Linked DNA regions of Homo sapiens: region 1 is linked to region 2. Evidence: promoter capture Hi-C in human tissues and cell types (Jung and others, 2019). All regions are on one chromosome and are shown on one strand. The core of a region is centred on a gene start or on the middle of the fragment in contact, and the rest is flanking DNA. Distances in the headings are between cores, read along the strand shown.

The links. Contacts are between HindIII fragments. The study calls those that stand out against the background at their distance.
Region 1: a contact is called between a fragment that was not itself captured here and the fragment with the promoter of LDB2 in region 2, in 2 of the 25 tissues and cell types used here (hippocampus and mesendoderm cells).

The regions. Positions count from the first base shown.
Region 1 is chr4:16,843,930-16,850,115 of GRCh38, reverse strand. All of the region lies in intron 1 of LDB2 (LIM domain binding 2), which reads left to right. Among named protein-coding and RNA genes, the nearest start is that of LDB2, 52 kb to the left of the region's middle. The HindIII fragment of the contact is 3,486 bases long and covers 1,711-5,196 here.
Region 2 is chr4:16,896,457-16,902,741 of GRCh38, reverse strand. LDB2 (LIM domain binding 2) reads left to right here and starts at 4,097. Exons shown (of 8, transcript NM_001290.5): 1 at 4,097-4,388. The coding sequence starts at 4,257. The HindIII fragment of the contact is 10,471 bases long and covers 1-6,285 here.

The DNA of each region.
Region 1 (6,186 bases), core at 2,204-4,703, 52 kb after region 2:
CTACCTTCATAGTCTCCCAAAGCCAGCATTCACCTCCCCTCCAAAGATGTTTATAGCATATCACCTCTTTGACATACCTGAATGCATAGATGCAAAGTTTATTAATATATGTTGGAGTTTTGAAGATGAAAGCGCTTCACCTTCCTGGGGATTGTTAAAAGTATGCCTACTTTTCACAGTTTTGTTTTTAAATCACTCACCAGTATGCAAAAGGCTACCAGATGACTAGCATGTGTGCTGGAAGAGATGAAATGTAAGAGGGACCAGGTGTAAGGCTAAGAGCTGGTGTCTGCCTTCAAGGTGCTGACCCTCCAGAAGTGGGCAGAACCCTCCACCCAGGGAATGGCCAGAGAGTGATAAGAGGGAATTAAGAGCAAATGCCCATGTGTTCTTGATAGCTATTTTTTCAATGGCTACACTTAAAAGAATGTGTTATTTTTTGACAAACAGGAAACAGTCATGCCATGAAGTGTCACTGTATTAAATGGCTCCCAAAGAGTTAATACATCAATTGGACCAGAGGGATTTGAAGGAGGCAGCACAACTCTCTAAGAAGGCTCCTCAGTGAGCCACCAGGCCCTTTAGACATTGCCTTTGGGTTCTTGCTGCATGGAATGTGGTCATGATAAAGTGTAACTGACATTCATTCTATCGGTATTAATTAAACAATTGCTTGATGCCAGGCATTTTGAATGAAACAATGGACACGATGAATAAGATCCTTTTCTCCTTGATCTTGCATTAGAAGAAATCAATTTTTAAAAGAAAAAGAAATATGATAGCAAGAAGCAAAAGAGGAAGATGAAAGACAGTACGTTTGGGGCTACTTTAGTTGGGGTGGTCACAGAAGTCCTCCCAGGGGAAGTGATATTTAAACAAAGACATTTTTGAGAAGAAGCCAGCCCTGTGAGCATCTTGGGAGAGAACTAACAGGCAGGAGCCAATGGCAAGTACAGCAAAAGAAAGACAGAGGGAAAAAAATGAATATGGATGAAGCAAATGGCCTGGGATTAAATTGAAGGCATAGTGGGGGCCAGATTTTTTGGTCTTTGTAGATCGGGGAAAGGAATTTCAATTTTCAATTTGGGATTTCATTTTAGTGCTTTGAGAAATCTTTGAAGAACTACCAGTAAGGGAGTGGTGTGATTTGATTTAGGCTTTAATCAGATATATCAGTAGATGTAGCTTTCAGGCGGCCATGCAGAGAGTGCATTACTGGAAAGAGTGTGGATGATTGAGGAGGCTCTTTCAGTGGTCAACAGGAGACATGATTCTGACTTGGGCCAGGATGGTGGCCGTGGGGATGGGGAAAAGTGGATGGATTTGCGATGTTGTTTGCTGATATATCAGATATGGCTGACAAAGGAAACAGAAGATTAAAATATTTGTCTTCAGCAAGTATGTGGATATTGCTATTATTTACTGAGATGGGGGTTACCTAGATGGAGTTAAAAGAAAGTATGGGGAGAAGGTTATTTCTTTTGTTTTAGTGTATGACGCTGCAGCTTCTGCTAAAATCCTGTTCAAGCTGAGGAGGGTTAATATGTCCTTAGGCTGCCCACTCCATTGTTGGATGTCTCTGAAGGCCAAATATTCTTCCACATGCTAACTAGACTCTGCCTTCCTGCAGCTTCTATTCATGTGTACATTCATGTTTCTCTGGAAACCCATGGAATACATCTGCTGTCTTCTTAGAAATGTGTGCCAAATATGTGAATACTCAAGATTTTTGACATTGTTTTAAAACATTAAAATTTCAAATTAGTTTGGGTACAAATGCCATTAATTAGATTATAGTGTATATACATGGACTTCTCCAAATTGAGCTTTTCATCTGTGTACAGAACCATGTTACATAGCCTTAATTTAGAATGAACAGTAAGCCTTTATTAATGACTTGTTGCCAAGACCCTTTACATAGTTCTTTTTTGCTTTTTAAAATTCACTTTGTCCCTACTTTCAATATAATATATACTTACTGTAGAGTGTAAGAAAAACAGAGACAAGTAGCTGGATTTCAAAAATAAATACCTTTCAGCATTCATCAAAGACCCTGACAGTTAAGTATTTGGCTTATTTTTCTCAGTACTTATTTTTATTTTATTTTTTTCACAAGACTCTATGTATTTTACATTTATATTTGGCTTTTTCATTTGCATTATAGCAGAGATTTAAAAATATTACTTTAAAAAATGTGTTAGGCTGGGCGCGGTGGCTCACGCCTGTAATCCCAGCACTCTGGGAGGCCAAGGCGGGTGGATCACGAGGTCAGGAAATTGAGACCATCCTGGTTAACATGGTAAAACCCCGTCTCTACAAAAAATACAAAAAATTAGCTGGGCACTGTGGCGGGCGCCTGTAGCCCCAGCTACTCGGGAGGCTGAGGCAGGAGAATGGTGTGAACCCTGGAGGCGGAGCTTGCAATGAGCCGAGATCCGCCACTGCAGTCCAGCCTGGGCGACAGAGCGAGACTCCGTCTCAAAAAACAAACAAACAAACAAACAAACAAACAAACAAACATGTGTTAAAGAACCTTTACCAATGATTGCCAAGTATTTCTTTCATTTAATAAGATGATAAGTTATTGCAAGAGGTTTAGGTGTTTCTAACGATTGTTATTTTTTACCACTATGGTAAACATCTTTGATGTAAGAATTTTTTCAAAATTTGGGTAACATCCTTAAGGAGGAGGTGTCACAAAATAAGAGTTTGGACATTTCCTAAAATCTTCCTCTAGAATGTTAACACTGAGTTTCCAACAGTATTGAGTAATTGACCTTTCCATTAGTATGGATATAAGTGACCCTCTGACCACATTCTGGTCCCTGTTAAATGGTATCATGAAAAAAAATATTATGCTGATTTGAGAGTCAAAAATTATTTGGTGTTGATAGTCTCATTTGTATTTTGTGGCTTACTAGTGAGCATAAATATTTTTCTACATGTTATTACAACATATAGAAATGTTTTTATCTTGCCATAAAAACAATTACGGGGGATTTTTCATTAATTGGGGTCCAACTAACTAGAACCTCAACTATTCAAATTTTGGGGTGAGAGTCAAATTGAAAAGAGAATGAAATGACACATACTGAAAAAGGAGAGAAATTAAAATAGAGTGGAGTCTTCTCCAGCTCTCAGTATAAAACTCATCAAGGCAAAACTGTTTTATTTAGACATCTGGGAAATGTACTTTGACAAACATCCGCTTGATGACTGTCAGTGTCATAAAGAGACTTTGATATCAAAAATCCACAGAAATTGTTGAAATAAATTATATATTTTTGTGACAAAGCACTCTTTGCCTGCTCTTTTGCATTGTCCATGTGATTTGGCTTTGGCATCTTAATACAAAGGAGAGCCCCATTTTCATGTAAATGACATGACAGAATTAATGGAGAGCTCTAGGGAGTCTACAGACTGCAAATGTGGCATCTCCCCTACCTGCTTTTAGCAATGCTTACCCGTAGTTGCTTTTCAGTATTTTTAACATATAAATGTTTCCAAAATTTACATATTCAGTGTTTTTATAGCTCTAGAAATACTCTCTCAAACTACTACAGAAGGTAACAAAACATCCTTCAAAAGTCTGATTTCCATGCATTCAGGCCATAAAAAATATATAGATAGAATTTTTAGACTCACTTCCAATAAGTTAAAATGCAACTTGTTCTGCTAAAGAGTTTGATCTTTTGCTTACCAACAGCACCAGGGGTAGACAAGATAGAATGTACTTTGCTTTCTATTTTTAAAACCTGGATTCACTGGGCTATTTGGTATTTGAAATTATTAAAGCTTTGTTAGCCATCTTGATAGGTTTACATGTTACAGCTGAGGCTTCTTATCTGTTAAACCAAGTGTATTAGACAATGTAAAAACATGTTAAGAATGGGCGGAGGTCTTAGGGAGTGCATTGCATAGAAAAAGTCTGAGAGTTGAGATCAGATGAACCAGACCTTATAATCCAGCCTTGCTACTTATTAACTTTTTTTTTTTTTTTTTGAGACAGAGTCTTGCTCTGTCGCCCAGGCTGGAGTGCAGTGGCGTGATCTCAGCTCACTGCAAGCTCTGCCTCCCGGGTTCACCCCATCCCATCCTCCTGCCTCAGCCTCCTGAGTAGCTGGGACTACAGGCGCATGCTGCCACGCCTGGCTAATTTTTTGTATTTTTGGTAGAGATGGGGTTTCTCCATGTTGGCCAGGCTGGTCTTGAACTCCTGACCTCAGGTGATCCACCCACCTCGGCCTCCCAAACTGCTGGGATTACAGGCAGGAGCCACCGCGCCCAGGCTTATTAGCTCATTTCTTTTGGGCAAACTATTTGACTTCTCTTGCACCATTTCCTAATTAATATCCCCATAAATTAGGACTAGTAGTACTTGAAAATTAAGGGGTTGAATGAGATAGTACACATAAACCAGCTAGTAGAGGACCTACCCATGGTAGGTATTTCATAAGTCCTATGCGATTAGTATTGCTTCTGGTCTTATTCCTGTCACTGTTGCTGTCATAGGATGTTGCTGCAAGAAACAGTAGATGTTGGGATAATAGGGAATCATGTATTTTGTAGTAGCCCATATGATAAATAGTATTAGCAACCATAACAAACATTTATGGAACACTTAACATGTGTCAGGTCTTTGTGCCTGCCGTAGGAAGGCAAGAGAGAAAAGTAAGCTTTGCCTATTGCCATCTGGGTTTCTTTGATAGAAAAAGCTGTTACTGAGAGAGCTAAAACACCCACCAGTGCTCAAAGGAAACAGGGGCGGCCATGGGATAGTCACAGAAAGAGCTGAGAGGAGATCTCGATGACATGCATTGCAGTTGTGATTGCAGTTACCAAAACGGCTCTTTAATAAGGAGGCTTAATGTATAAATTTGGGAGCAGGGGATCTGCTTACACTCTTGCATTCCACTTCTCCCCTGGAAAGCCCTCTAGAGCTTCAGGGACCACAGAACAAAGGCCACTGACCTTGTGCAGCCTCCACCTGCTAGCTTTAATACAGTGAAATTGAGACCCCACATCTCTAATCTGGGACTGGGCTGAAACATGCACTGCATGAGTCTAAGCTGTTGACTCTTAAAGAGCCAGAGTGAACTTTCCCCCAGTGGGCAGTAGATTCCGCTGCATCTGCTTATGGATGTTTACTCTTGACCTACCATTAGCAGAGACGTGACATGATGTAGTTTTCCCTCTTGTACCTTTTAACCACAGACCACAATCCATTTGCTCTGAATGTTTAATACAGTATCAAGCCTGAAATCAAATGAGTGCAGGTGGAAGAAAACATTAGGTGGGTTAGGTCAGGGAAAAGCAATGTTTTCAGGGCTTCTGCAAAATGTGCTAATGTTGTGAGGAAAATCAACAATAAGATCAGGGAAGTAGCACTCGAAACCAATGTCTTAAAAAGTCATGGACAAAAAAACAAAAACAAAACAAACGAAACAAGATGAGAGAAGACATGGGGATTGTTCTTGTAAATGCAGAGTCAATCAATTTGATTTCTTAACATTAAAACACTTTGTGCTTTAAGGATGTATCCCAGTTACCCCATCAAAAAGCAGAATTAGAAAAAAAAGTCTTAAGAGAAAAATAACAGACAAATCCTTAATATCTTTACCATAAAAAGGGATATGAGAGAGCCCCAAGTGTTCTTGTGAAATAAAGTTTAGAAGTTCCTTTTCCAGATGTGCAACTGCAGAAATGTAAATAAAGCTTTAGTAAAGGGAGGTCATTGGCCAAGGAATTTGAAATGAGGCACCCAGGGAAGTGGGAGGAGAAGTGAGGTATTTAGTTTTTACTTCTACAGCTGTTGCTTGGTGACTCACCATTGATAGATCCTTTTTTTTTTTTTTTTTTTTTTTTTTGGAGACAGGGTGTGTCTCTGTCTCCCAGGCTAGAGTGCAGTGGCTGGGCCTCAGGCCTTCACCTTCTAGGCTTACGCGATTCTCTCACCTTAGACTCCCAAGTAGCTGAGACTATAGGAGTGTGCCACCACGCCCAGCTAATTTTTTTTTTTTTTTTTTTTAGAGATGGGGTCTTGCTATGTTGCCCAGACTGGTCTCAAACTGCTGGGCTCAACCCGTCCTCCCATTTTAGGCTCCCAAACTGTTGGGATTACCAGTGTCAGCTACCACACTTGGCTGATTGATCTTAATAGGGAAAGCAAACTCCTTAGTTTTTAAA
Region 2 (6,285 bases), core at 2,848-5,347:
TGTCACTTATTCATTGCATGACTTCAAAGAACTTTCTTAGCCTCTCATAGCCTCAGTTTCCCATTGGGTAAAATGGGAATAGTAATCAAATCAATTCCATAGATTTATTGCAAGATAAACTAAGAGTGATTGTGTAGACCACTCAGTACAGTGGCTGGCACATAGCAAGTACTGAACAAGTGACAGTATTTGTTCCTTTTATGTATTAATATAAGTCCTCTAATAGAAGAATATAGAAACTACACTACACTGACGACACCAAGGGGGAGGATGAATTTTTTTTTTTTTTTTTGAGATGGAGTCTCACTCTGTTGCCCAGGCTGGAGCACAGTGGTGCGATCTCAGCTCACTGCAACCTCCACCTCCCGGGTTCACATGATTCTTCTGCCTCAGCCTCCTGAGTAGCTGGGATTACAGGCATCTGCCACTACACGTGGTTAATATTTTGTATTTTTAGTAGAGATGGGGTTTCACTATGTTGGCCAGGCTGGTCTCAAACTCCTGACCTCCTGATTCACCTGCCTCGGCCTCCCAAAGTGCTGGGATTACAGGCGTGAGCCACCGCACAGAGCTTGCACTATAGTTTAAAATTATGTTCCCAAATATTTACTAGCTCTTCTACACTGTCTTTCCCTTGCCCTCACTAGATGGCAAGGGGCAGGAAGGCAGGTAGCCTGTGTGCTATGTCACCTTGGCCTCCCAATGATCCCTAGAACCTAAGCAGATATCAGGTACCTAATAATCATGTTATTATTATTATTTTTATTATTATTTGAGACAGGGTCTTGCTCTGTTGCCCGGGATGGTGTGCAGTGGTGAGATCTCGGCTCACTGCAACCTCCACTTCCCAGGTTCAAGCGATTCTCCTGCCTCAGCCTCCTGAGTAGCTGGGATTACACGCACCCACTACCATGTCCAGCTAGTTTTTCTTTTCCTTTTTTTTTTTTTTTTTTTTTTTTGGAGACGGAGTCTCGGTCTGTCACCCAGGCTGGAGTGCAATTGCACGATCTCGGCTCAATGCAACCTCCATCTCCCAGGTTCAAGGAGTTCTCCTGCCTCAGCCACCTGAGTAGCTGGTCAGGCACGTGCCACCACACCCGGCTAATTTTTGTATTTTTAGTAGAGACAGGGTTTCACCATGTTGGTCAGGCTGGTCTCAAACTCCTAACCTCGTGATCCGCCCGCCTCGGCCTCCCAAAGTGCTGGGATTACAGGCGTGAGCCACTGCACCCGGCCTATCATGTTATTATTTGAGCGTTTAGATGACAGGGTTCTAATGCATTTGGATGTATTTGCTAATCCTTAGCAACAATCTTATAGACTAGTTTCTATCATTGTCCTCATCTTGCAATGAGATAACTGAGGTGCAGAGAGACTGAGTCCTTTGCTCAGGTTCACGCGACAACTAGATGGTGGAGCTAGGGTTGAAACGTGCTCTGGCCCTGCTGTTGGCTCTGCCTCTATCCACTGTGAATGGAATATTTGTTGAATAAATAAACAAATGAATGTGTAATTTAAAAAGATTTATGGAGGAGACAATTTAATTTAATAGAAGGATAAGTAGCAGTTTGTAGGTAAACTAGGGCCAGAAGTACAAATGTGGCCATGCATAAGAAAGATTGCAAGTTTAGGAAGATCAAGTATAGCAAATAAATAAATGAATGAACACACAAATGAGTAAATGAATGAGTGTGTGTGAGTGTGTGTGTGTATGTGACAGAGGGAGAAAGAGACAGCACAGAAGTGCGGGTCTTACCGAGCCCTGTATGCCATGTTCCTAAGGAACTTGCACGTTTTCCTTCTGGCAGCAGGGAAACACTGAGGGGGAAAACATGGGACATGATCGCTTTCACTTATCTGAAATCCACATTCTCATTTGAATAAGGACAGACCACAAGTTAGAAGAGGACTGTGAATCTGTGGGCAGGGGGACCAGTTCGGAGACTCCTGAAATAACGGGGATGAGAATCAGGGATATGGATCAGCATTATCAAGTTTCAGATAGTTCTGAAATGAGAGTCTTTCACTATTAATGGCAAGAAATATTTCCAATTATAATTGGCAATGGTCTGCAGAAACAAATGAGAGCAAACCAGAACCTTATTCAGAGAGGGATTCCCTTCCTAAATGGATTTTTGAACTGTTTCATTTTTTTTTGTTACTATTGGCCTGCACAGGCCTGCCTAGGTGTTACTTTCATTCTTGCACTGAAATGGTCACATTAACACAAACTCAGGCAGACACTAAACTTTCAGAATGTCTTTAGTTTGAGAGTTTAAACATAAGGAACCATTAGGTTTTGCAGTGGCTGCCATACCAAAACGTAAATCATGCCAAAATTGTTTGAAATCCTGTCTTTAGAAGGTTGTGTGTTTTGACAAACCTTGCAGCAAATTTGGTCCAGCTTTCGGATTTGTAATGAAACCTGAAACCAAGCATTCTCGCCTGCCTTGGGGTCTCCTAGCGCAAGTTCCAAGCAGCCTTAGTGTAATACCTACCCTAATCTCATCCTGGGAAGCGACATTAGTGTGTTAGGCTGCGCTGCTGGAAGTTTGGGGTGGACTCAGCAAATATTTCATGCAATTATGAAGAAGGACTGATCAAGACAGCAATACACTTTTCTGTGTCTGAGTATTTTTAAGAGTGTAAATTGCAGAATTAGCAATACTCTATCCCCTGTTGGCTAGTGACTTGGAGATACCCAAGCCATGATTGGGGCAGAAAGTTAATTAATCTGCTTATTAAAAAGAAGAAATGTCTCATTTGCATGCATTTGCATTCAGGTCTTGAATTCATTATGCTTTTTGGTGGTCCTTTGCTTTATTTCCTTAATACCACTGACCTACCTAGGTGTTAGCTCAATACATTTAAATTTTGTGTGGCTGGGCTTTGTTTAAGTGTCGTATCTCTGGTTATAGTGGGTTCTAGCAGAATTTGATTATTTTATAGATTGTTTAATTCTCTATAGAGATTTTCCCCTTCCATGGGCTGTTGGGATTTCTTATGGTTATCATATACCACAGTTGGGAAAATATTTGTTTACTTGACCAATCTTGGAAAATACAGACTTTGTCTCCATAAGAGTTGGACATGTTATCTGGGGATGATCCATTCAATTATTTGCAATTTCCTTCTCAACCAAATTTTCCGTGGTCATTTTTGTGGCAGTTTTCTCCTTCTTTGCTTTTCCTGTCTTATTGGGAGGTCTGTTTGGGTTTTTTGTTTGTTTGTTTGTTTGTTTTTCCTTCCTGGGAAAAAAGACCATTGCTCTCCTTAAGTGTATTTTATACCTTCCACATTCAGAACGACTGTTTTTACCTGAAAATGCCCAGGCACCTTAAGGGCCTGAATGAAGTCTTTGGAGAAGAGGGAGGTGGCTGGGAAGAGGGGTGAGTGGGGAGAGATGGGAGTGAGATGGAGTGGAGGGCAAAGAATATAACAGCCCTTGGAACAACAGCAAGTAAAGCAAAACTACATAGGGAGATTAGTGCTGAAATAAATCTCTGCATGTGAGTGAATCACCGGTCCCAATTCGGGGCACCACAGTGCCCGTGTTTCTGTATTTTGTAGTAATCAACATTTCTGATACATTACAACAGTGTGGTTGTCAGGGGTGAGCGGCTCATGTAGCGGTTAGACCACCTCTATGCTAACAAGCTTAGCAATCAGGTTGTGAAGGGTCCTGGCTGGAGGAAAAAAATTAAAACCAAACCTTAGACCTCTTGTCAGACTGTGAGGAGAATTATATTTGTGAACTAGTCTACAATGTGGACAGGAAATGACCTCTCCACAAACTGCTTCTTTAAAAACAAGCAGTGGTGCCTAAAGCTATCCAGCTCCTCTCTCTCTCTCTCTCTCTCTCTCTCTCTCTCTCTCTCTCTCTCTCTCTCTCTCTCTCTCTCTCCCCCTCCCTCCCTCCCTCCTCCCTCCCTCCCTCCCTCCCTTCTTCCCTCCCTTCCTCCATACCAACCTCCCTCCCTCTCTGGAGCTCCTGCTCTCTCCCTCTCCCTCCTCTCCCGTGCTCCCTCCCTCCCTCCCTCTTTCCCTCCCTCCTCTCCTCTCCCTCTCCTCTCCTGCTATAGAGGGCTCCGACAGCAGTTCCCAGCCAGCGTGTTCAGCCTGCCTGCCTGCCTGCCTCTGTGTGTGTGTGAGCGTGTGTGCGTGCGTCTACTTTGTACTGGGAAGAACACAGCCCATGTGCTCTGCATGGACGTTACTGATACTCTGTTTAGCTTGATTTTCGAAAAGCAGGCAAGATGTCCAGCACACCACATGACCCCTTCTATTCTTCTCCTTTCGGCCCATTTTATAGGAGGCATACACCATACATGGTACAGCCAGAGTACCGAATCTATGAGATGAACAAGAGACTGCAGTCTCGCACAGAGGTAAGTACTTCAACCTTGGGGATGTGTTTGTGTATTTTTGTTAAGCTATGCATGAGCTTTTCCTAGGGTTTCTGGCTGAATTCTATGGGAAGTGTCCCACTTGATACTACCACGTACGTGGAAATGAGCGCCAGGATGAATCCACGAGTTTGGACGCTGGGTTTCCAGGCACAGCAACTCTTGTAGCAGAGGACAGTTTCTGCCGGAATCTTGAGACAACCCAGCACTTGATTCACATGCCGGGTTTCCAGAAATGTTGCTCTTCCAGAACTCTGGTGTTTTACAGGCTCTGAGTCAGTCCTGTTGGTGTTTCTTGAGATATAATTCCAAGGAATTTTGTGATTGTTTGCATCTGGCTATATATATATATACATATGTGTATATATATATATATATATATATATATACATATGTGTATATATATATATATATATATATATATATATATATATATATATTTTCTTTTTTACAAATCCTAGAGGAAGTCTGCTTTGACCTGTATTTACTTTTCAGAGTCACCAAAATCGAGGTAAAAAGGGGCAGAAGAGTAAACCTGCCTACTTCTCAGAACTAGCCCTGGAGGGACACATGTTTGTATATTTCAGTGTTAAAATCAGAAACCAGTTGCTTGGGGCAAGGGGACTCTAGACTTTCTCCTATTGCTGTCGGCCGTGCCCCCCTATCACTCTACCTTAGGACAGGAGCTGGTTCAGCTTTCAAGTCAGCTCTAGTTTTTGCATATTTGAGATCTTGTGCCTGAGAGAGGGAGACTCAGCCTCCTAGGCAGCCAGCAACTCTGGGAGCAGAGAGAACAGGACTTTCAGAACTTTTTAAATGCAAAACTCCAGACTCGCCTCCTGCAATTTAAATATTTTATGTCAGTTGACTTTTTCTCTGTGCTAGCTCAGCTGGCAGGTCTTGCTGCTGGATTGTCCATCTGCCTGTAAGTTGGGGCTTTGTGTGGAAGTGTTCGGAAAAGGAGTTTGTTATAGGTGCACCAAAGTCACTTTAGGAAGTGGAAATTGCTAGGAATTTAGTCTTCTCTGCAGAGTATAAATACCACAAGATTTATGCCAAAGAGCTTTTAGGGAATAGCTCTGGTGGAATTTTAGATTGAAGATTGACTTTTAACTCTAGGAAGGGACTCCATTAAGTTTGTGCTATGGGATAAAACACAGTTGGCTTGAATTGTCAACAGAGCCATAGAGAATTCATGACGTTTCGTGTATTTAATACAGCTAACAAGATGTGACCTGCTTTCTGATTGGCTAACTGCTGGACAAGGACTTATATGTATTTTAAAAGCTGGGTTGTCTTTAATGACTGCTGTTTTCTTTATATGTTAATACACCATAGACGCTAAATATGACTGCTGGTACTCTTGCTCTTTCTAGAAGCCAGTAGCTTCTATAGAAGTGCAAACTATGTTTTGCTTAGGATAGTGAACTGTTGGCAGTGACTGATATTTGTGCTTGCTGTTTTGTGTATGTTGCTTTGTGTGTGTAACAGTTTGTATATTTCCTTCAGATCTTTGCAACTGTGTGTTGGAATCTTAAATCTCTGCATAAACCATTGGTTGACACAGGCTGCTTTCATAATTAGGAGGATAGAAAATGTCTTATAGTTCAGGCACACATTAATTGCAATACAAATTTGGAAAAAATAGTCTTTTAAAAGTATGATTAGTTATAAAAAAAGAGGCCAGGGACCATTATGGCTCAATTCTTGAACAGCAACAATATTTAAAAATGACCTGTCCACCTTACATTTTAGAAAGTTTTTGAGGAATTGCAGAGATTCTTCTCCATCCTCCTGCAGTTAGGAACACAGGCAGCTTTCTCTGATATCTGCCTGCCCTCCTGCCCATTACTGAGCACTTGGCCAGGTCTGAGCTAGG